Regions from separate parts of the Homo sapiens genome. Here region 2 is linked to region 1. The links are contacts of gene promoters, found by promoter capture Hi-C in human tissues and cell types (Jung and others, 2019). All regions are on one chromosome and are shown on one strand. The core of a region is centred on a gene start or on the middle of the fragment in contact, and the rest is flanking DNA. Distances in the headings are between cores, read along the strand shown. Region 1 holds the start of CALHM2 (calcium homeostasis modulator family member 2). Region 2 overlaps NEURL1 (neuralized E3 ubiquitin protein ligase 1).

The links. Contacts are between HindIII fragments. The study calls those that stand out against the background at their distance.
Region 2: a contact is called between a fragment that was not itself captured here and the fragment with the promoter of CALHM2 in region 1, in 2 of the 25 tissues and cell types used here (mesenchymal stem cells and mesendoderm cells).

What each region holds. Positions count from the first base shown.
Region 1 is chr10:103,451,120-103,455,762 of GRCh38, forward strand. It overlaps CALHM2 (calcium homeostasis modulator family member 2), which reads right to left and starts at 1,251. Exons shown (of 4, transcript NM_015916.5): 1 at 1,037-1,251; 2 at 1-166. CALHM1 (calcium homeostasis modulator 1) reads right to left here. Exons shown (of 2, transcript NM_001001412.4): 2 at 2,121-4,628. The coding sequence ends at 4,143. It overlaps LOC124902494 (a long non-coding RNA gene), which reads left to right and starts at 1,324. Exons shown (of 2, transcript XR_007062275.1): 1 at 1,324-2,117. RefSeq lists enhancers at 1-293, 242-862, 863-1,484 and a silencer at 1,323-1,652. The HindIII fragment of the contact is 12,335 bases long and covers 1-3,809 here.
Region 2 is chr10:103,523,740-103,528,303 of GRCh38, forward strand. All of the region lies in intron 1 of NEURL1 (neuralized E3 ubiquitin protein ligase 1), which reads left to right. Among named protein-coding and RNA genes, the nearest start is that of NEURL1-AS1, 8.6 kb to the left of the region's middle. RefSeq lists enhancers at 3,844-4,344, 4,345-4,564. The HindIII fragment of the contact is 4,400 bases long and covers 778-4,564 here.

The DNA of each region.
Region 1 (4,643 bases), core at 1-2,500:
CTCTTCCGCAGCCGTGACCCCTCTCCTATCCAGCAGCCTCCCAGCAGCTCCGCTCCACCCCGCCTGCCAGCAACAGGAAGCCCTGGTGAGACCAAAGGCTCAGCGGTGCCACCAGCTCATCCGGAGATTATTCTGCCTTGGTCTGGGCTGTAGCGACGCTGGCAACCTGCCGGGAAGTGGCCATGGCCTCGGGCAACAGCGAAGTTTAGCCCAACTCCCTTCCCAGCCTCCACCCACACAAGCCTGAGAGACAGGCCAGGGTGTGGCCCCATGTCCTCCCCCTCTGGAGGGTGAAAAACAAAACTCCCCAGGCCAGAGGAAGCCAGGGAGTGGAGGGATGGGGTGAGCGCCAAACACAGACCTAGCCCTGTTCCCTTCCATGCTTCATGGAGGGATCACCCCTTCTAGATCACCCCTTCTGTCCCTGCCAAGGAAGGCTGCCAGATGGGCTCAGGCAGAGCCATGTGGCCATGCAGACTCCAAGAAAAGGAGAAGCTGGAGGAGGAGGACCAGGAGGAACAACAGGAGGAGGAGGAGGAGGAGGAGGAGGAGGAGGAGTCTGATTCTTCCCCCACTTCACAGCCTGGAGCTTCCAGCCTAACTTCCTGGGAAAGGCAGTTTGCATCACTGCTGGGGAAGAATGGGTTAAAGTCAGCCCCCTTTGCCCCATCCTTTTCCCTTCTTGGCTTCTAGGCTCCTAATTAGCTCCCTGTGGAGGCCCTGGGTTCATAAACTGGCTCAAAGTGGGGTACAAGATACCTGCACAGGGTGGGTGGTGAGCAGAGGATGGGCCAGGCCATCTTCTGAGACCACTGCCCCCAGGCCAAGGATGGGTCACATCCAGACCCCCAGTGGGACCTCCTCCAACATCAGTGACGACAGGAGACTGGCGGCTCGGGGAGGGGCAGGACTGCTCCCTGTTCAACCGGGTGGAGGGAACCTCAGCTAGGGGCCTCTCTCCCTCTGGGCAGCGTGGGACAGGCCCCACCATGCTCCGCTGACACCTGGCACACCCCAGGGAGGGCCCCTTCCTTACCTGGGGCCAGCTGTGGGCACTTGTGGCCATGGCCTCCTCGGGGCCGGACTCTCCAAGTGGCCTCCAGGAGGGCGGTGCAGGGCAGCGGCGGCCTCCGCCGTTCCCTCCCGCTTTTCTTCTGCACGGGGGCCTGGGGCTGGTGGCGGCTTCAGACTAATCTAACTCCAGAAAAGAGAGAAGAAAACAGTGGGATGGAGTCTGCGCGCCAGTGAGTGGAAAAACAGCCTCCCGGCGCCACCAGGCAGAGGAGGGCGGGCCCCGAGGGCGGCGCGAGAGGAGAGGAGCCGAGAGGAAGTTGAGATGCCTGTTCTGCAGCTGCTGCGCGTCCCACCGACCCGCTGCTCGCCGTCCCTGGGCCGTGCTGGCCCTCCGCCCTCGGCCCAGACCCGGACCGGGCCATGCTCCACACCAATGGGACCAGTCGGGAGGGCCACGTGGGGATGTGGAGGCATTGGGGAGATCTGACCCAGACCTGCCCCCCATGACAGTTTCAAGAGCACCCCACGTACTTGACCCCCGCTGGGCAGAAGCTACCAAAGGAGACCCCGCGAGGGTCAAGGGAGGGTGTCGTCAGGCCCGCGCTGAGCCCTGCAGGATGCTCAGGGCCAGGGCCCCACCCTCTACTGGCCCTTCTCCCTCAGAGTTGTCCATTGACTGGACAAACCATCCCCAATGCTGACTCTTTGACCTATAGTCAGCTAACTCCCCGGGACCTGCTTCGGATCCCTGGAGGGCTGAGGATTGAATTCAGGAGCCTAGGGATTCTCCGGGTCCTGCAGGCAGAGCTCCAACTGGTGGGTGAAAGTTACAAGGAGGCAGGTTTCTGAAGGAAGCCCTGTGTAATAATCAGAGCTGCCCAGCCTGTATCTAAAAGTGGTCAAGATGCGGGCTGAAGCGTCACGGGTCAGGAATGCTGCACAGGAGAGTCTACGGACAGGCTAGATGACCCTTAGCATGGAGGGAGAGGACCCCCGACATCTGTCAGCTCTGCAGTGCTCGTGGTTCCGTCATGGTGGAGCTGCCGAGTGACCCGCTGGCCTCCCTGAGCTGGGCTTGACCATATGTACGAAGGAAAGAAAAGGTACCAAGTTCTGCTTGTTTATTTGTTTGTTTCAGATCCCAGCATGTGCTAAACACAGTCCCAGATCCTTCCCTAAAAGTTATCTTCCTCTATCCTTACCACAATCCTGAAAATCAGGTCTTTTTTAAAAAATAATTTTTTCATTTTAAAAAAATTATAAATCTTCTCTTTATTCTTCTTCTTCTTCTTATTATTATTATTACTTTACAGAGACAGAGTCTTGCTATGTTGCCCAGGCTGGTCTCCAACTCCCAGGCTCAAGTGATCCTCCCTCCTTGGCCTCCCAAGTGCTGGGATTACAGGCATGAGCCACTCCGCCTGGCCAAGCAGGTCTTCTAATATCCATTTTATAGACAGACACACTGAGGCTTAGAGTGGCTGGGTGACTGGCCACAAGTCCTGCAGTGCTGGTATTTGAACTCAGGTGTGCCTGACCCAAAGCTTTGCTCTTCATCACATTTGTACCTCCTGATACCTCCGGGCCTTCTCTTCCCACTGGAAGTGCTGCCACCCACCAACATACACCTTGTTTTTTGCTCATCCTAATCCTCCCTGACTTCAGGGCCCATACCAACTCCTACCTCCTGGAAGAGCCCTCCCAGCCCACCTTGGCCCACAAAGATCTGAGCAACTCCTCCCAAATAATTAAGAGGAGGGAAACTGGACCCCAGAAGTGGGAATAGAGGGAAGGATGGATAAAAAAGGATGGAATCATGCCAAGATCAAAATGAATCCTTAGATGCTTGGGACTTATGTCTCAGAGCTGAGGGCGGTGCTGAGAAACCTATCTGTACCTCTGTTTCCTCCTCAACAAGATGGAAGCTCGAGTGTTTGTGTTGCTGTCTCATCCCTGCCCAGGGGAGGAGGAAGGAAGTCCTTAGGTTCAGAAATCAACAAATACATTAGCCACCCTGTGCTGGGTGCCTACTATGTGCCATGTGCTTTTACACACAGCAACCCCATGATGGCGGGCCGGGGGGGCCTCATCCTCATTGTATAGATGAAGAAACGAAGGCACAGGCAGTGATGCAGCTGGCCCAGGGACAGGGTTTGTGAGTGGTAGAGACACCATTTGACCCAGTTCTGTCTCACTCTGGAATCTGAGCTGCTTTCTCTTTACACTGCTCTCCTCCACCCTCATCCCACCTGGGCTAGAGCCTTGGAGCTCCTCTTAGCCTCTTAGAACTCCATCCCCAAGAGGTGGGGTCTTTGAGAAAAATGGAGAGACTTCAGCTTCTGTGTCTAACTTCTCAAGCCTTGGGGATGGTCTGATTTCCCCTGGAGACCTGGATGTGACGGGGGTATTAAGGTGGTTTTTCAAAGACCCCTCTACAGGAGGACTTTTGTGCTTGGTTTGTGCTAAATAAACATGCAGTCCACCTGGACAATTGTCACATGACCCCCATGGTGACCACACACTCTGACCTCTTCCATGTGAACCTAGCTTCTGACATCTTGTCTCATCGCCTGTCACCCCAGGTGTGTCACACCAGGTAGGCTGTGTGTCATGTCCTTATGGACCTGCCCCGGCACACCCAGTCTCACCTACGACACGCTTGCCCAAATCAGAGGGCTCCCACTTCATGAGACGCCTGATGATTCCCACTCCCCGAGCCCGGAGCATAAAGGAAGAGAGGTACTGAACAGCCACAGACGAGGGTGGACCCTGGGGCAGGGATGTCTGTTGAACCTGGGAGGAGACAGTGAACATCAGCCTGGGAAGGGCTGGGCAGAGGGGAGCCATTGGTCCCTGTACCTGCCATGACAGTTCCGACCCCTTTAGACTAATACTGCTCATGGGCCCACTGCCCTAGGGCCATCCAGGGCAGTGTCACACCTGAAGGCATCAGATCCCCTTCCAGCTCCAAATTTCCTGCCTCCAATGGGCAGGCGAGTGCTAGGGAGTGTGGATCTGCCTAGGGGAGTACTGCCCAGCACTGAAACCCTTCCTTTTTCCACCTGGTTTGGGGGTTGGAGGGGCTGTGGGCTCAGATCCCCGTTCCTGCCTCTTCAGCTGGCCACACCTCACACTTTGCTGAAGTAGGTGGCCACCTCCTTACGCGGAGGCCGGGGCCCACCCCCAGCCCAGCCGTTGCCCATCAGCGGTGGCTCCTCCTGGCCCAGCCGCAGAGGCGGTTTGCATTTGTGCCAGCTCGTGAGCAGCCTGTTCATGGTGCCTTGATCCGTGATGCCACGCAGCTTCTCCCTTTCCTCCTCCGCACCATCGGGGGTCGTGGGGGCAGCTGCGGAAGCAGGGGCCGTGGCCAGTGTCCCGTGGGTGTGACCCAGCTCCAGGTCATGGTTCATGGCCTCGAAGAACTGCTGGATGCAGACCTTGGCAAAGGCTTTGGCGTGCTCCGTGCACGTCTCGTCGAAGAGCTTGCGCTCGATGTCGATATAGTGGGACCAGTACTTGCTCTTGAGGAAGGCGGCCTGCGTGAAGCAGGGCCGCACAGAGCGCACCACGAATGCCAGCAGAGTGGTCAGCAGCACGAAGGACCAGCCCAGCGCCTGTGGGAAGATGAG
Region 2 (4,564 bases), core at 1,728-4,227, 74 kb after region 1:
TCTGAGCTCATTCATATTGCCATGAATGACAGAATTTCATTTTTTAAATGGCTAAATAGTATTCCATTGTGTATATATACCACATTGTCTTTATCCATTTACTTGTTGATCGACACTTAGGTTGATTTCATATCTTGGCTATTATGAAGAGTGCTGCAATAAACATGGGCGTGCAGCTCTTTGACATAATGATTTCCTTTCCTTTGGATATATACCTAGTAGAAGGATTGCTGGGTCATATGGCAGTTCTGTTTTTAGTTTTTCTGAGGAACCTTGATACTGTTTTCCATAATGGCTGTACTAATTTACATTCCCGCCTGCAGAAAGAGTTCCCCTTTCTCTGCCTCCTTGCCAGCATTTGTAATTTTTTGTTTATTTTGATAATGGCCACTATAACTGGGGTGCAATGATATTTCATTGTCATTTTGATTTGCATATCCCTGATGGTTAGTGATGTTGAACATTTAAAAATATATACTTGTTGGTTTTGTCTGCATTCTTTTGAGAGATATCTATTCAGCTCATCTGCCTGTTTTTTAATTGGAGGATTTTTGTTTGTTTTTTGCTGTTGAGTTGTTTGAGTCCCTTGTATATTCTGGATATTAACCCCTTGTCAGATGAATAGTTTGCAAATATTTTCTCCTATTCTGCAGGTGATCTCTTCATTCTCTTGATTATTTCCCTTGCTGTGCAGAAACATTTTAGTTTGATATAATTTCATTTGTCTACTTTTGCTTTTGTTGCCCGTGCTTTGAGGTTTTCTTTATAAAATCTTTGCCCAGACCAATGTCCTGAAGCATTTCTTCTATGTTTTCTTCTAGTAGTTTTATGGTTTTGGGTCTTACATTTAAGTCTTTAGCCAATTTTAAGTTGATTTTTATATATGGTGAGAGATACGGCTCTAGTTTCATTTTTCTGCATATGGATATCCAGTTTTCCTAGCATCATTTGTTGAAAAGACTGTTCCATCCCCAGTGAATGTTCTTGTCACCTTTATTGAAAATCAGTTTTGCTATAAATACATGGGTTTATGTCTGGATTTCCTATTCTGTTCCATTGGTCTATGTGTCTGTTTTTATGCCAGTGCCATGTTGTTTTGGTCTTTTTAATATATTTTGAGGTCTGGTAGTGTGATATGTCTAGCTTTGTCCTTTTTGCTCAGGATTGCTTTGGCTATATGGGGGGTGGGGTCCATAGAATTTTTAGGATTGTTTTTTCTATTTCTGTGAAGAATGTCTTTGGTATTTTGTTGTGAGTTGCATTGAATCTGTAGATTGCTTTGGGTGGTATGGTAATGTTCACAATATTAATTCTTTTAATCCATAAACATGGATGTCTTTCAGTTTTTTTATGTCCTCTTCAATTTTTTTCATCAGTGTTTAACAGTTCTTATTGTAGAGATCTTTCACTTCTTTGGTTGAATTTATTCCTAGATTTTTTTTTTGTAGTTATTGTAAATGGGATTGCTGTGTTTCTTTTTCTGCTAGTTTGTTGTTGGTGTATAGAAATGCTACTGATTTTTGTATGTTGATTTTGTATTCTGAAATTTTACTGAATTCATTTATTAGTTCTCAGAGTTTTTTTGGTGGAGTTTTTTTTCTTTCTTTCTTTCTTTTTTCTTTTTTTTTTTTTGAGACAGACTTTCACTCTGTTGCCCAGGCTGGAGTGCAGTGGCATCACCTCGGCCCACTACAACCTCCTCCTCCTGGGTTCAAGCCATTCTCCTGCCTCAGCAACCCAAGTAGCTGGGATTACAGGTGTGCGCTACAATGCTGGGCCACTTTTTGTATTTTTAGTAGATATGGAGTTTCACCATGTTGGCCAGGCTGGTCTCCAACTCTTGACCTCAAGTGATCCACCAGCCTCCTCCTCCCAAAGTGCTGGGATTACAGGTGTGAGCCATCGTGACTGTAAGTCTTTTGTTTTTCTATATATGATAGTTTATATGCAAATAGGGACAATCTGACTTCCTGTTGTCTAATATGGATGCTCTTTATTTTTTTCTCTTCCTTAATTGCTCTGGCTAGTACTTCCACTACTGTGGTGAATAAAAGTGGTAATAGTGGGCTTTCTTGTCTTGTTTTGGATCTTGGAGAAAAAGCTTTCAACTTATCCCCTTTCAGTATGATGTTGGCTATGATTTTGTGCTATGTGGCCTTTACTGTGTTGAGATATACTCCTTCTATACCTAACTTGTTGAGAGTTTTTATCATGAAGGGATGTTGAATTTTATCAAGTACTTTTTGTGCATCTATTGAGAGGAGCATATGGTTTTTGTCCTTCATTCTGTTGATGTGATATATTGTGTTTATTGACTTGTGTATGTTGTATCCCTGAGATAAATTCTGCTTGATCATGGTGAATCATCTTTTTGATGTGCTGCTAAATTTGGTTGACCAGTATTTTGTTGAGGATTTTTTGCTTCTATATTTACCAGAGATATTGGCCTGTAGCTTTCTTTTTTTTGTTGTGTACTTGTTTGGTTTTGGTATAGGGTAATGCTGGCCTCATTGAATAAGTTTAGAAGAATTCTTTCCCCCTTAATTTTCTGGAAGAGTTTGAGAAGAATTGGCATTAGTTTTTCTTCAGATGTTTGGTAGAATTCAGCAGCGAGGCCATCAGGTCCTGTGCTTTTCTTTGATGGAAGACTTATTATAGATTCAATATTGTTACTTGGAACTGGTCTGTTCTGGTTTTATATTTCTTCTTGGTTCAATCTTGGTAGATTTCATGTGTCCAGGAATTTCTCAATTTCTGCTAGGTTTTCTTTTCTTTTCTTTTCTTTTTTTTTTGAGACAGTCTCACTCTGTCACTCAGGCTGGAGTGCAGTGGCACGATGTCAGCTCACTGCAACCTCTGCCTCCTGGTTTCAAGTGATTCTCCGGCCTCAGCCTCCCAAGGAGCTGGGATTACAGGTGCGTACCACCATGCCCGGGTAATTTTTGTATTTTTAGTAGAGATGGGGTTTCACCATGTTGGTCAGGCTGGTCTTGAACTCCTGACGTCATGATCCACCTGCCTTGGCCTCCCAAGGTGCTGGGATTACAGGCATGAGCCACCACGCTGGCTGGTTTTCTTTTATTTTTCTGCATATGAATGCCAGGTTATAGCGACTAGGCTTTCTAATTTGTTTGTGTATAGTTGTTTGTAATAGTCTCTAATGATCCTTTGTATTTCTGTGGTATCATCTTTTTTTTTTTTTAAGTAAAAGCAAGTTTATTAGAGAAGTAAAGAAACAAAAGAATGGCTACTGCATAGACAGAGCAGCCCTGAGGGCTCCTGGTTGGCTATTTTTATGGTTATTTCTTATCATATGCTAAATTAGGGGTGGATTATTCGAGTTTTCCAGGAAAGGGGCAGACAATGCCTGGAACTGAGAGTTCCTCCTCCCTTTAGACCATATAGGGTAACTTAGGGATGTTGCCATGGCATTTGTAAACTGTTATGGCACTGGTGGGAGTGTCTTTTTAGTATGCTATTGGCACTTTCATTGCTATCTTGGTTTTGGTAGGTTTTGACTGGCTGGATTTTTTTATTGCACTTTTTTTCTTTTTTTTTTGGTTTTTTTTTTTTGAGGCAGAGTCTCGCTCTGTTGCCCAGGCTGGAGTGCCCTGACACAATCTTGGCTCACAGCAACCTCTACCTCCCAGGTTCAAGCGATTCTCCTGCTTCAGCCTTCCAAGTAGCTGGGATTACAGGCATGCACAACCATGCCAGGCTAATTTTTATATTTGTAGCAGAGATGGGGTTTCACCATGTTGGCCAGGCTGGTCTTGAACTCCTGACCTCAGGTGATCTGCCCACCTTGGCCTCCCAAAGTGCTGGGATTACAGGCATGAGTCACTGCACCTGGCCTATTGTATCTCGTTTCATCAGCAGGGTCTTCGTGACTTGTATCTTGTGATTCCCTATCTCATCCTGTGACTAAGAATGCCTAACCTCCTGGGAATGCAGCCCAGCATATCTCAGTCTCATTTTACCCAGGCCCTGTTGAAGATGGAGTGGCTCTGGTTTGAACACCTCTGACATATTTCTCCCTCCATTTTACAAGGGGACCCTTAATCCTATGGGTTGTAGAGGGATGAATATCTATCTTCTCTAACTTCTGCTGGCTGAATAGGGGTGATGATATTTCTATCTATTAGGGTCTCTTGTATTTAGAGTAGAGAGGAGCTCAGTCAGAAAACATTGGTATAAAGGCCGGGCACAATGGCTCACGCCTGTAATCCCAGCACTTTGGGAGGCCGAGGTGGACCAATCATCTCAGGTCAGGAGTTTGAGACCAGCCTGGCCAACATGGTGAAACCCTGTCACTAGTAAAAATACAAAAATTAGGCCAGGCACGTTGGCTCATGCCTGTAATCCCAGTACTTTGGGAGGCTGAGGTGGGTGGATCACCTGAGGTCAGGAATTTGAGACCAGCCTGGCCAACCTGGTGAAACCCCATCTCTACTAAAAATACAAAAATTAGCTGGGCGTGGTGGCAGGTGCCTGTAATCCCAGCTACTCAAAGGCTGAGGCAGGAGAATCACCTGAACCCGGTAGGCGGATGTTGCAGTGAGCT